Linked DNA regions of Homo sapiens: region 2 is linked to region 1. The links are contacts of gene promoters, found by promoter capture Hi-C in blood cells and fetal thymus (Javierre and others, 2016). All regions are on one chromosome and are shown on one strand. Each heading gives the region's core, a stretch centred on a gene start or on the middle of the fragment in contact. The rest is flanking DNA. Distances are from core to core; before and after follow the strand shown.

What was found. The method cuts DNA at HindIII sites, captures the fragments that hold promoters and counts their contacts. A CHiCAGO score of 5 or more calls a contact.
Region 2: a contact is called between a fragment that was not itself captured here and the fragment with the promoter of DIABLO in region 1, in 1 of 17 cell types (endothelial precursors). The highest score is 6.9, in endothelial precursors.

Annotation. Positions count from the first base shown.
Region 1 is chr12:122,224,047-122,229,112 of GRCh38, reverse strand. DIABLO (diablo IAP-binding mitochondrial protein) reads left to right here and starts at 3,061. Exons shown (of 6, transcript NM_001371333.1): 1 at 3,061-3,148; 2 at 4,469-4,601. The coding sequence starts at 3,099. LOC128125816 reads left to right here and starts at 2,549. Exons shown (of 1, transcript NM_001414998.1): 1 at 2,549-2,683. The coding sequence starts at 2,549. The coding sequence ends at 2,683. It overlaps LOC101593348 (a long non-coding RNA gene), which reads right to left and starts at 2,671. Exons shown (of 1, transcript NR_103497.1): 1 at 321-2,671. RefSeq lists enhancers at 1,084-1,915, 1,916-2,747, 2,697-2,991, 3,045-3,284, 3,295-3,344 and 1 more and a silencer at 2,615-2,754. The HindIII fragment of the contact is 3,750 bases long and covers 1,207-4,956 here.
Region 2 is chr12:122,049,520-122,054,585 of GRCh38, reverse strand. The region is part of intron 4 of BCL7A (BAF chromatin remodeling complex subunit BCL7A); the gene reads right to left. Among named protein-coding and RNA genes, the nearest start is that of LINC02985, 11 kb to the left of the region's middle. The HindIII fragment of the contact is 5,355 bases long and covers 949-5,066 here.

The sequences.
Region 1 (5,066 bases), core at 1,812-4,311:
CCCAGCAATTTTTTTTTCTTCCTTTTAGAGACAGGGTCTTTGTTGCTCAAACTCCTGGCCTCAAGAGAAATAATTCTTTTTTTCTTTTTCATTAAATTTATTATCTTTTTAATTTTCTGTTGGCTAGGGTGGTCTCGAACTCCTAGCTTTAAGCAGCCCTCCTGCCTCAGCCCCACAAAGTGTTGGGATTATGGGTGTGAGTCACCACACCAGCTGAAATACTCTTTTTAAAATATCAAAATGAACTGGATGTCTAAAGCAGACAGTAAGAGGGACTATGATAAAGATGGTGAGGCAAAAAAATGCAGACATCACATAGATGATCTTCTTTAGACTGAATTTATTGTAGACTGTGATATATTCAGTCGTGGTTTAATGATGACATCCTATAGAAAATAGAGGATACCTTTTTTGTCAGACAACAGAAGAAAAAGGCAATTATTTAAAATTTCTCAGATTCTTTTATTTCTAAATGGATTAGTGTGAATTTCAAGCCACATAGTGTTTCTTTGCTTAAGTTCCTCCGTTGCTGTAAAACACCCAAAATCAGGCGGTAACAAGGGGCCGCAAAGGCTAGAACACTTAACTGCCTGGAGACATCCATTTGAAGGATGTGAGGGTTAAAAGGGAACAGAATCAGGCCTATTTTTAATAGCCTGTCTGTTTCATCCATTATTTTGGTGTGGAGGAGGGTATAAATCTCAGCTGTACTCCGTTGCCACTAGGTAGGACACGGAAGATGACCAGTTCTCTGGGGGAGTAATTACTACTCACTGGCTTCCTGAGCAGCTTGATAATGTTCTGCTCCTGTTTTCAGCCTCACTGTGGCCAAGGCAATAATTTGATAATAAGAGATCCTGATTAAATTAAGGAGCCATTTGCTTCTGGATGATGATGTTGATAAAAGGGTTGATGTCCACACTGCCTGCTCTTTTCAAAGGTCAGAAAACAGTCTTGAACTAAAAACTACGGCAACGAGCAAAATAATCAGAAGCAGCATAGTTTATGCTTTCGTTTCCTTTGTTGTTGCATCTGGGAAAGTGTCTGTTCTTTGCAGAAATCCTCACTGGCTCCTTTTGCCTCACATTGTGAGGAGGTGAAATTGGAAGTGTCACATTGGGAAAGTATCTGTATAATGAGTCTGTAAGCTGCAAAACTCTTTGTAAATCGGAATCAAGCACTCAGGAGATCTCGGTCACTTAAGCTTGGTTCTCACACCCGTGCATGCTTGCACTTGCATGTTTTTTAAGACAACAGCTTTTGCTTTAGTAGTTGGGCGGTCGCAAGTGAACACTGTCCAGTGGTTCTTCTGGTGCCCAGACTCGGAGGAGATGGGACTGCTCTCAATGTGTTTGTTAGAAACGAAACTGTTCGCACTATAACCCCATAACCCCTTACAATGTTCAGAAAAAAACAAGAAGGGGCTTGAAATACCCACTAGTGTGCCGCCTGCTCAGCCCATCTGGGTCTGTGAAACCACATCTGAGCCCTGTGGGCTGTGGTGGCGACACAGGCAGAGGGCGGGCAGGGTTGCCAGCGCCCCGCCTGGGCTAGGAACGCCTGTGCGCAGCTCCCTGAGAGCTCGGGGACCACGCGGAGGTTGTAATTGGTCTCTAGACCACACCTAGTTGTTGAGTGCCGCTGCTTGAAAATCTCAGTTCTGCCGAGATCGCAGAATACACACAAGCTACCTTTGGGCACCAGAGCAGACAGAACCGCGGAGCTTCAGGGTGGAAGATTCGTGGAAACTTTGCCAAGTAAGTGAGGTGGGGAGAGAAGGAAGCCAGTGCCTGACACTGTGGGGAGTGGCTGGGCAAAGCAGCATTGGAGGTGTTGTAGGGTTCCTACTGTCTGATGAGCTGGTGTGGGGTTCTTACTGTCTGATGTCGTCTCTGGTGGAAGTTAGCAGGGCTGGGGCAGATGCACAGAGCACGGTGGCGGGGGTGAGCCCAGGATCGGATTGATGCCCACCCACCACCTGGCACCCTGCAGTCCCAGCTGGCCAGAAGGCAAGCATGCTGGACCACAAAGCAAAGATCCTCCAGCTCTGCTGCTGGCAAGCCTTGGGGCCAGGGGACTCACAGAAGAGCAGGTTTGGGCCTGTGCCTTCCTCCTGCCCAAATGGGTCTCTCTCCCCTTCCCCTTCCAGCCAGGGCCGCAGCTGGGGCTGCAGCTTGAGTGACGGGAAAAGAAAGGTTTACTCCACCAGCGCATTAGCGGCACTCACAGCATTAAAAATGCAGGAGGTGGTGGGAGGAGCGGGCCAGGGAGGAAAACTCATGCAGCTGCGGGGCGCGGGGAAGAGCCGGGCTTCTGCCTCCTCAGCCCGGATCAGAGCCGAAGAACGAGGGCAGTTTGGGTTGAGAAGGATTCTCCAGTGTAACCGAGAAGCGAGCGTCCAGGAGGCTGTTGGGGAGGTCGGCACTGTGGGCTTCCTGGCCTTCGTTTGCTGTTTCGAGGGCCAGGACCTCGTGTGTTCCCGTCCGCCCCTCTGGGACGGCGCCAGCCCGGCAGGCCGCCGACCGTCCTGGGGCTCCCGCGCAGCGCGATGCCGGCCTCGTCCACCGTCCACGTGCTGCAGCTGCTGCGGGAGCTGCTCGCCTTCGTGCTCCTCAGCTACACGGTGCTCATCGGGGCGCTGCTGCTGGCCGGCTGGACCACTTACTTCCTGGTGCTGAAGTGACAGCGCCGTCGCCGCGCCCGGCCCCGCCTCCCGCCCGGCCCCGCCTCCCGCCCGGCCCCGCCTCCCTAACTCACCAGGAAATTCCCTTCAAGCCCTGGCCCGAACTGAGTCCCCGCCCACCCGCCAGCGTCACGGCGCCCGACTCAGCTCCGCGCCGGACCCACCTCCGCGCCCTCAGGCCCTGCATATGCCCCGCCCCGCGCGGAAGTTCCGGCGGTTGGTTGCCTTGCGCGGCCGTTACAGCCTTTGCCCTAAGCCTCGCCCCCTTTCCCCCTGCCTGCCCAATCCCGACTGCTTCCTTGGGTGGGGGCGTGGCTATGGGGCGAGGCGCTCTCAGGTGGAGGCCGTGCCCCGCTCCGCGCTCACGAAGCTGCGTCACTTCCGGCGTGTGCGTCTGGCGTCCGCGCGCTGCACAATGGCGGCTCTGAAGAGTTGGCTGTCGCGCAGCGTAACTTCATTCTTCAGGTACCGCTGCGGCCGCGTAGAGGGGACAGGACCAGAGGGAGGGACCGACGCGGACAGCGCTGTGGCCCGGCCCACGGCGCCCGCCTTCCTTACGCGCTCATCTCTCGTCCGCCCAGCTGGGTCGCGGCGTCTCGCTCCGGTCGGGAGGACTGAGGACAGCCCCGCCTCCGCCCCCTGGGTCAAGCCCGGCTTCCTTTTCAGTTCGTCCATCTTCTAGAAACGAGTCCCCGAGACCCCGGGCTGCCTTCTTGGGGCTGCTCCGCCTCCTGACCAGCCCTCGTCAGCCACTCGAAGTCCCTGAGGAGACGTGGAGAGGAGGAGGGACACGGCATGGGGGGAGTCCGGGAAGGGAGACGAGCGTCTGAAGACGTCCTCCCGAGGGCAGAAGGGGCCGGGGGAGCTGGCGCAGGGCTCTCTACCTAGCGCTGCAGGCTCCTGGGCGATTGTAGCGGGACCGTCACACACAACTGGCACCCAGGCCAGGGGTCCAGAGCTAAATTCTGCCTGCAGGAGCGGTTATTGTGGCATCCGTTTCTAAAAAGTTTAAAGGCAACATTTTATTTTATTTTAATTTTTTTGAGACAAGATCTGCCTCTGTCGCCCAGGCTGGAGTGCAGTGGCGAGATCTCAGCTCACTGCAACCTGTGCCTCCCGGCTTCAAGCGATTCTCAGCCTCAGCCTCCCGAGTAGCTGGGATTGCAGGCGCCCGCCACCACGCCCGGCTAATTTTTTTTTTTCTTTTTGTTTTGTTTGAGACTCAGTCTCGCTCTGTTGCCCAGGCTGAAGTGCAGTGGGGCGCTCTCGGCTCACTGCAACCTCTGCCTCCCAGGTTCAAGCGATTCTCCTGCCTCAGCCTCCCGAGTAGCTGGGATTACAGGAGCGTGCCACCACTCCGGGCTAATTTTTGTGTTTTAAGTAGAGATGGGGTTTCACCATGTTGGTCAGGCAGATTTCGAATTCCTGACCTCAAGTGATCCACCCGCCTCGGCCTTTATTTACTTATTTTTTTTTAATAGACACGGGGTCATGTTGCCAGCCATGTTGCCCAGGCTGGTCGTGAACTCCTGGGCTCAAGTGATCCTCCCGCCTTGCCCTTGGCCTTCCAAGTGCTAGGATTACAGGCGTGAGCCACCAACACCCTGCCTGAGGCAACATTTTAAACTTGGTGTATGTTGAAAATTTCAAAACCCCTCAGCTGTCCTGCATCCTCATTTAGGTTCCTGCTTGGCTCGAGTTTGAGTTTACAGCCCCTGCAAGTAAATCCAAGAGCCTGTTACAGATTGGCGGTCGTGCCTTATGAAATCTGACTTCTACTTCCAGGTACAGACAGTGTTTGTGTGTTCCTGTTGTGGCTAACTTTAAGAAGCGGTGTTTCTCAGAATTGATAAGACCATGGCACAAAACTGTGACGATTGGCTTTGGAGTAACCCTGTGTGCGGTTCCTATTGCACAGGTACTGTCGTGTGCAGTGATTCTTATCTAGTGTACCGTGTCCTCTTGAAGTCTCAAGTGGGCGGTGAAGCATTAGACAAGCTACCATAGTTTTTCCCAGTGCTCCCATCCCTTCCCCCACAGTACCGGCATCTTTTCACAGTTGAGCAGATATATTAATATTCTCATTTTGATTATCTCATTTGGTAGGAACAGCACATCAAATTGTATAAAGCGAGTAGAGAGAAATAAGAGGATATTACAGTCTATCAACAAAGTAGTCTTTGATTCAACAGAAATTTATTGAGCAACTTTTATGTGCAAGACACTGAGAATGTAAGAATGAACAACAAAAAATTCTTGTTCTCACAAAAGCTTTGTGGAGATGAAAGAGGATAAAATATAAAATATCAGCTGGTGATAAATGGTGGGAAGAAAACAGGGCCGGGCACAGTGGCTGATGCCCAGGGCTTTGGGAGGCTGAGGT
Region 2 (5,066 bases), core at 2,377-4,876, 180 kb after region 1:
ACCCTCTCCTGCACACTTAGCTGCTGAGGGCCCTGGGAGGCGACTGGAGGAGGCTGCAGTCTCTGTGCTGCGTGCACCCAGCACCCCCTGGCGGCCGCAGTGCGCACCAACAATCATGGCTGTCAATTCCTCTCTCCCGCAGCCAAGGTGGCTTCGTCCTAACCTTTTGTAAACATTTCTCTTAATAATATGGGTATTTGGCCGGGCACGGTGGCTCAGGCCTGTAATCCCAGCACTTTGGGAGGCCGAGGCTGGCGGATCACGAGGTCAGGAGATCGAGACCATCCTGGCTAACACGGTGAAACCCCGTCTCTACTAAAAATACAAAAAATTAGCCGGGCGTGGTGGCGGCGGGCGCCTGTAGTCCCACCTACTCGGGAGGCTGAGGCAGGAGGATGGCGTGAACCCGGGAGGCGGAGGTTGCAGTGAGCCGAGATCGCGCCACTGCACTAAAGCTTGGGTGACAGAGCGAAACTCCGTCTCAAAATAATAACAATAATAAGGGTATTTTTCCGATTGCCAGAGCAATGACTGACCATTGCAGGAAACAGAAAAGTACAGAAAAAATAAAGTTAAAAATCACCTGTCACCACCCAGGGACCACCCCACTAATGTTTTAGAGGATTAATTCCCGTCTTTCCAGTTTCCCCTCCCTCCATGCGTACAAATTTTCTCCTCTTCCCAAATGGGGGTCATGTGGTATTTCGGAGGAATTCTTCATGTCTTTAAAGGTTCTTTAAATATCACAGCTTACAAGATGGCCGCACACCATTCCATCAAGGAATCGCCAGTAGAATGAACCCAGTTATTCGGGTGATTTCTCATGCCTGTCTTCCTGCTGCTCCACCCCAAGTTTTCTTTAGCAGAAGGAAGGTGCAGGCTGGATGGGGCGGGGGGGTGGGTGCAGCTTGGGAGGAGGCAGTGGCGGCAGCGGTTTTTCCTAAAGCTTACTGGACACAGAGCCAGACACTCGTGAAGGGGCAGCAAAAATCCTACCCGAGGCCCGGACACCATGGTACCCTGATGTTAAAAAGCACACACGAAACGAATCCTAGAGAATGCCTGTGCGACCAAGACTTCCCTGCTGGGGTTTCTGAGGCAGAGTAATAACAAAGGGGAAAATAACCCATGCTTAAGTTTAAAAGCAAGCAGGCAAGATGGGAAGAAGAAGGAGACAGTGCAGGGCCTGGGACAGGCCGGGACACAGAGGGCGGGGGAACGGGACAGCAAGACCCTCCTTCCCAGGGAGTCTGAGCAGGGTTGACACTTACTTCTCAGACTAGGAGCCCTGGCCGGGCGCGGCGGCTCACGCCTATAATCCCACCACTTTGGGAGGCCAAGGCAGGCGGATCACTTGAAGTCAGGAGTTCAAGACCAGCCTGGCCAACATGGTGAAACCCCGTCTCTACTAAAAATACAAAAATTAGCCAGGCATGGTGGTGCACGCCTGTAATCCCAGTTACTCGGAGGCTGAGGCAGGAGAATCGTTTGAACCCAGGACCACCTCCTGGATTGGGAGCCGAGATCATGCCACGGCACTCCAGCCTGGGCGACAGAGTAAGACTGTCTCAAAAAACGACAACAACAACAAAAACAGGCTAGGCACGGTGGCTCACGCCTGTAATCCCAGCACTTTGGGAGGCTAAGGTGGGTGGATCGGCTGAGGTCAGGAGTTTGAGACCAGCCTGGCCAACATGGCAAACCCCCCCCCCCCCCCGACTAAAAAAATACAAAAGTAAGCCAGGCGTGGTGTCGCGCGCCTGTAATCCCAGCTACTTGGGAGGCTGAGGCAGGAGAATCCCATAAACCCAGGAGGCGGAGGTTCCAGTGAGACAAGATCATGCCACTGCACTCCAGCCTGGGTGACAGAGTGAGACTCTGTCTCCAAAACAAAACAAAACAAAAAACAAAACAATAAAAAAACAAAAAGAAAGAAAACATTATGCTGAGTGAGAAGTCAGACACAAAAGGCCACAGAGTATATGATTCCATTTATATGAAAAGTCCAGAATAGGCAAACCCATGGAGACAGAAAGTTTCGTGGTTGCCCTGGGCAGGGACCCAGTGTTGCTGGGGAAGGGAGAAGTGGAGAATGATTGCGGCTGGGTGCAAGGTTTCTTTCTGGGGTGATTAAAATGTTTTGGAACCAGATAGAAGTGGTGGTTGCACAACCTTGTGAGTGTACTGTCAGTGAATTATTCACTTAACCTGGTTAATTTTATGTGAATTTCATCTCAATAAAAAGAAAAATCACCCAGGTGTAGTTGCTCACACCTGTACTCCCAACACTTTGGAAGGCCAAGGTGGGAAGATAGCTTGAGCTCAGGAGTTTGTGAACAGCCTGGGAAATATAGTGAAATCTCATCTCTAGTTTATTTATTTTTTTTTTTTAAAAGAGAGGGGCCAGGCCAGGCCAGGCGTGGTGGCTCACACCTGTAATCCCAGCATTTTGGGAGACCAAGGCAGGCAGATCACTTGAGGTCAAGAGTTCAAGACCAGCCTGGCCAACATGGTGAAACCCCGTCTCTACTAAAAATATAAAAAGTAGCTGGGTGTGATGGCAGGTGCCTGTAATCTCAGCTACTCGGGTGGCTGAGGCAGGAGAATCGCTTGACCCCAGGAGGCGGAGGTTGCAGTGAGCGGAAAATCGCACCACTGCACTCCAGCCTGGGTGACAGAGTGAGACTTTGTCTCAAAAAAAAAAAAAAAAAAAAAAAAAGAGAGAGAGAGAAATCATGTTATTGTTATACTCTATTTCATAATAAATGTTTGCTTTAACATAAATATTTAAAGTTTTTACTAGAAAAGTTGCCCATCTGTGGCTTTGGATCTGACCACAGCTCCTTTTCTGCCGGGCACAGCAGGCTCTGCAGAGTGGTGGGGGAGGTGGGTGCCCCAGATGTAGGCTTAGAAATCATGAAGGTGGCCAGTCACCCAGAGACTCACGCTGACCCGTGCTGGGCAGAGAGGTGCCCGGCAGAGGCCTCTCCTGAGAGCCAGGCCCTAGAGCTTGGTGGGAACTGGCCTTGGAACCCACAGAGCATTCAGGAGCTCAGGGCAGCAGCCGATTCTCTGGGCGCTGCGGTGCTGGAACTCACCCAGGGAAAATTATTTTCCTGGGACCTAAATTTAGTCCAGGGAGCTTGGACAGGAATTATGTCATTCCCTGAACTCACACAGCAGTAAACAAGTTCAAAGCAAGGTCAACAGCTGGTGGCCGACCTGCCCCATCCCGGCAGACAGCACGCACCCACCTGGGAAGGCCACACGGGTCTGTCCTTGTGCCCTTCCCACGGGCAGCTCGGGCAGCAGGCAGGTGGATCCTGGCTGAGCAGTGCAGGGCAGCCGTGCAGGCCCAGGGGCCTGGGGTGGCCAGAGAGGACCCTGGTGGAGGTCCCACCTGCGTCCCACCAATTTAGCATCTGGTGGTAGTGGCGAGAAAGTAGCAACCAACTGGACACACTAACTCAAAACATAATTCCTGCTGCGGAGCTCAAATCGGGCTTCTAGAGCAAAGGAGACACACACCCCCAACGTGGGAGAAACAAGGCCACGGCCAGAAAGAAACCAGGATGGGAAAGAAGCAGGAACGCGGCTGCACACGAAGCCCATGTCCGTCCTTGGGAACCCCGCAATCGCTCCCCCGACAGAAGGGTGGACAAGGCAACCCTGCAGCTCCCAGACCCTCCTCCTAAGCCCCAGCTCCAGGCCGAGCACTTTGCTGGCGTTCTCGCCCCCTTCGCTCCCGGCGAGGGAGGCAGCTTCTGTTTATCCCATTTTATTTTCTGCTGAGACAGGGTCTCGCTCTGTCGCCCAAGCTGGAGTGCAGTGGCACGATCATGGCTCACTGCAGCCTCCACCTCCCAGGCTCAAGTGATCCTCCCACCTTAGCCTCCCGAGTAGCTGGTCATCCCATTTTACAAACAAGGAAGTAGGAGGGTGTGTGGAGGTGATGTTCCTGCCCAGGCCCACACAGCTGGTGAGTGTCCCCCTGTATGTGACCACAGCCCCCGTCTCACCCCCTCTGCCTTCTACCTGCAGAACCACCTTCCAGGGAAGCCTGGTGGGCATGCTGGGATCACGGGGGCCATGAGGGGAGATGAGAGGGGACGACACATACTGTACGCAGCGAAGGCTATGGCAAAGCCGCTAGGGCACTGGCTCTCAGCAGGGGGTGATTTTACCCCTGCCCCTATCCTGGGGACATTGGTTAACAACTGGAAACATTTTGGTGGAGGCCAGAGATGCTGCTCAATGTCCCACAATGCACAGGATGGCCCCCCCCCCACAATAAAGAAGGATCCAAGACTGGTTGTGGTGGCTCACGCCTGTAATCCCAACACTTTGGAGGCTGAGGCGGGTGGATCACCTGAGGTCAGGAGTTTGAGACCAGCCTGGCCAACATGGTGAAACCCTGTCTCTGCTAAAAATACAAAAATGAACCAGGTGTGATGGCAAATGCACGCCTGTAGTCCCAGCTACTCGTGAGGCTGAGGCAGAAGAATCAGTTGAACCCGGGAGGCAGAGAGGTTGCAATGAGCCCAGATTGCATCACTGCACTCCGCCCTGGGTGACACAGCGAGACTCCGTCTCAGAAAAACAAAAAGAATGATCCGTCTCCAAATGCCAGGGGTGCTGAGGCTGAGAACCCCTGTGCTAGTGGTGTCATCCTACCCATGACTTCTCGGGGGGAAAAGCCAGGCAGAACCTGTGACATTCTGAGTGCATATGCAGCCTCTGACTAAACGGTTCCACTTCCAGGGACGCAGCCTGCAGAGCCACCTGCACCTGGGCAAAAGTGAAGAGAGATGAGGGTACCAGACCCCCCGCAGGACTGCATGTGCAAAACAAAAGACGGGAACACCTAAGTGACCATCACTAAGGGACTGTTCACATAAATTATGGCACAGTCACAGACTTGAACGGGAAGTATTATAGTTGATATGGAGAATGGCATGAACCTGCAATCTCTGCCTCCTGGGTTCAAGCTAGTCTCCTGTCTCAGCCTCCCAAGAAACTGGCATTACAAGTATGCACCACCACACCGGGCTATTTTTTGTATTTTT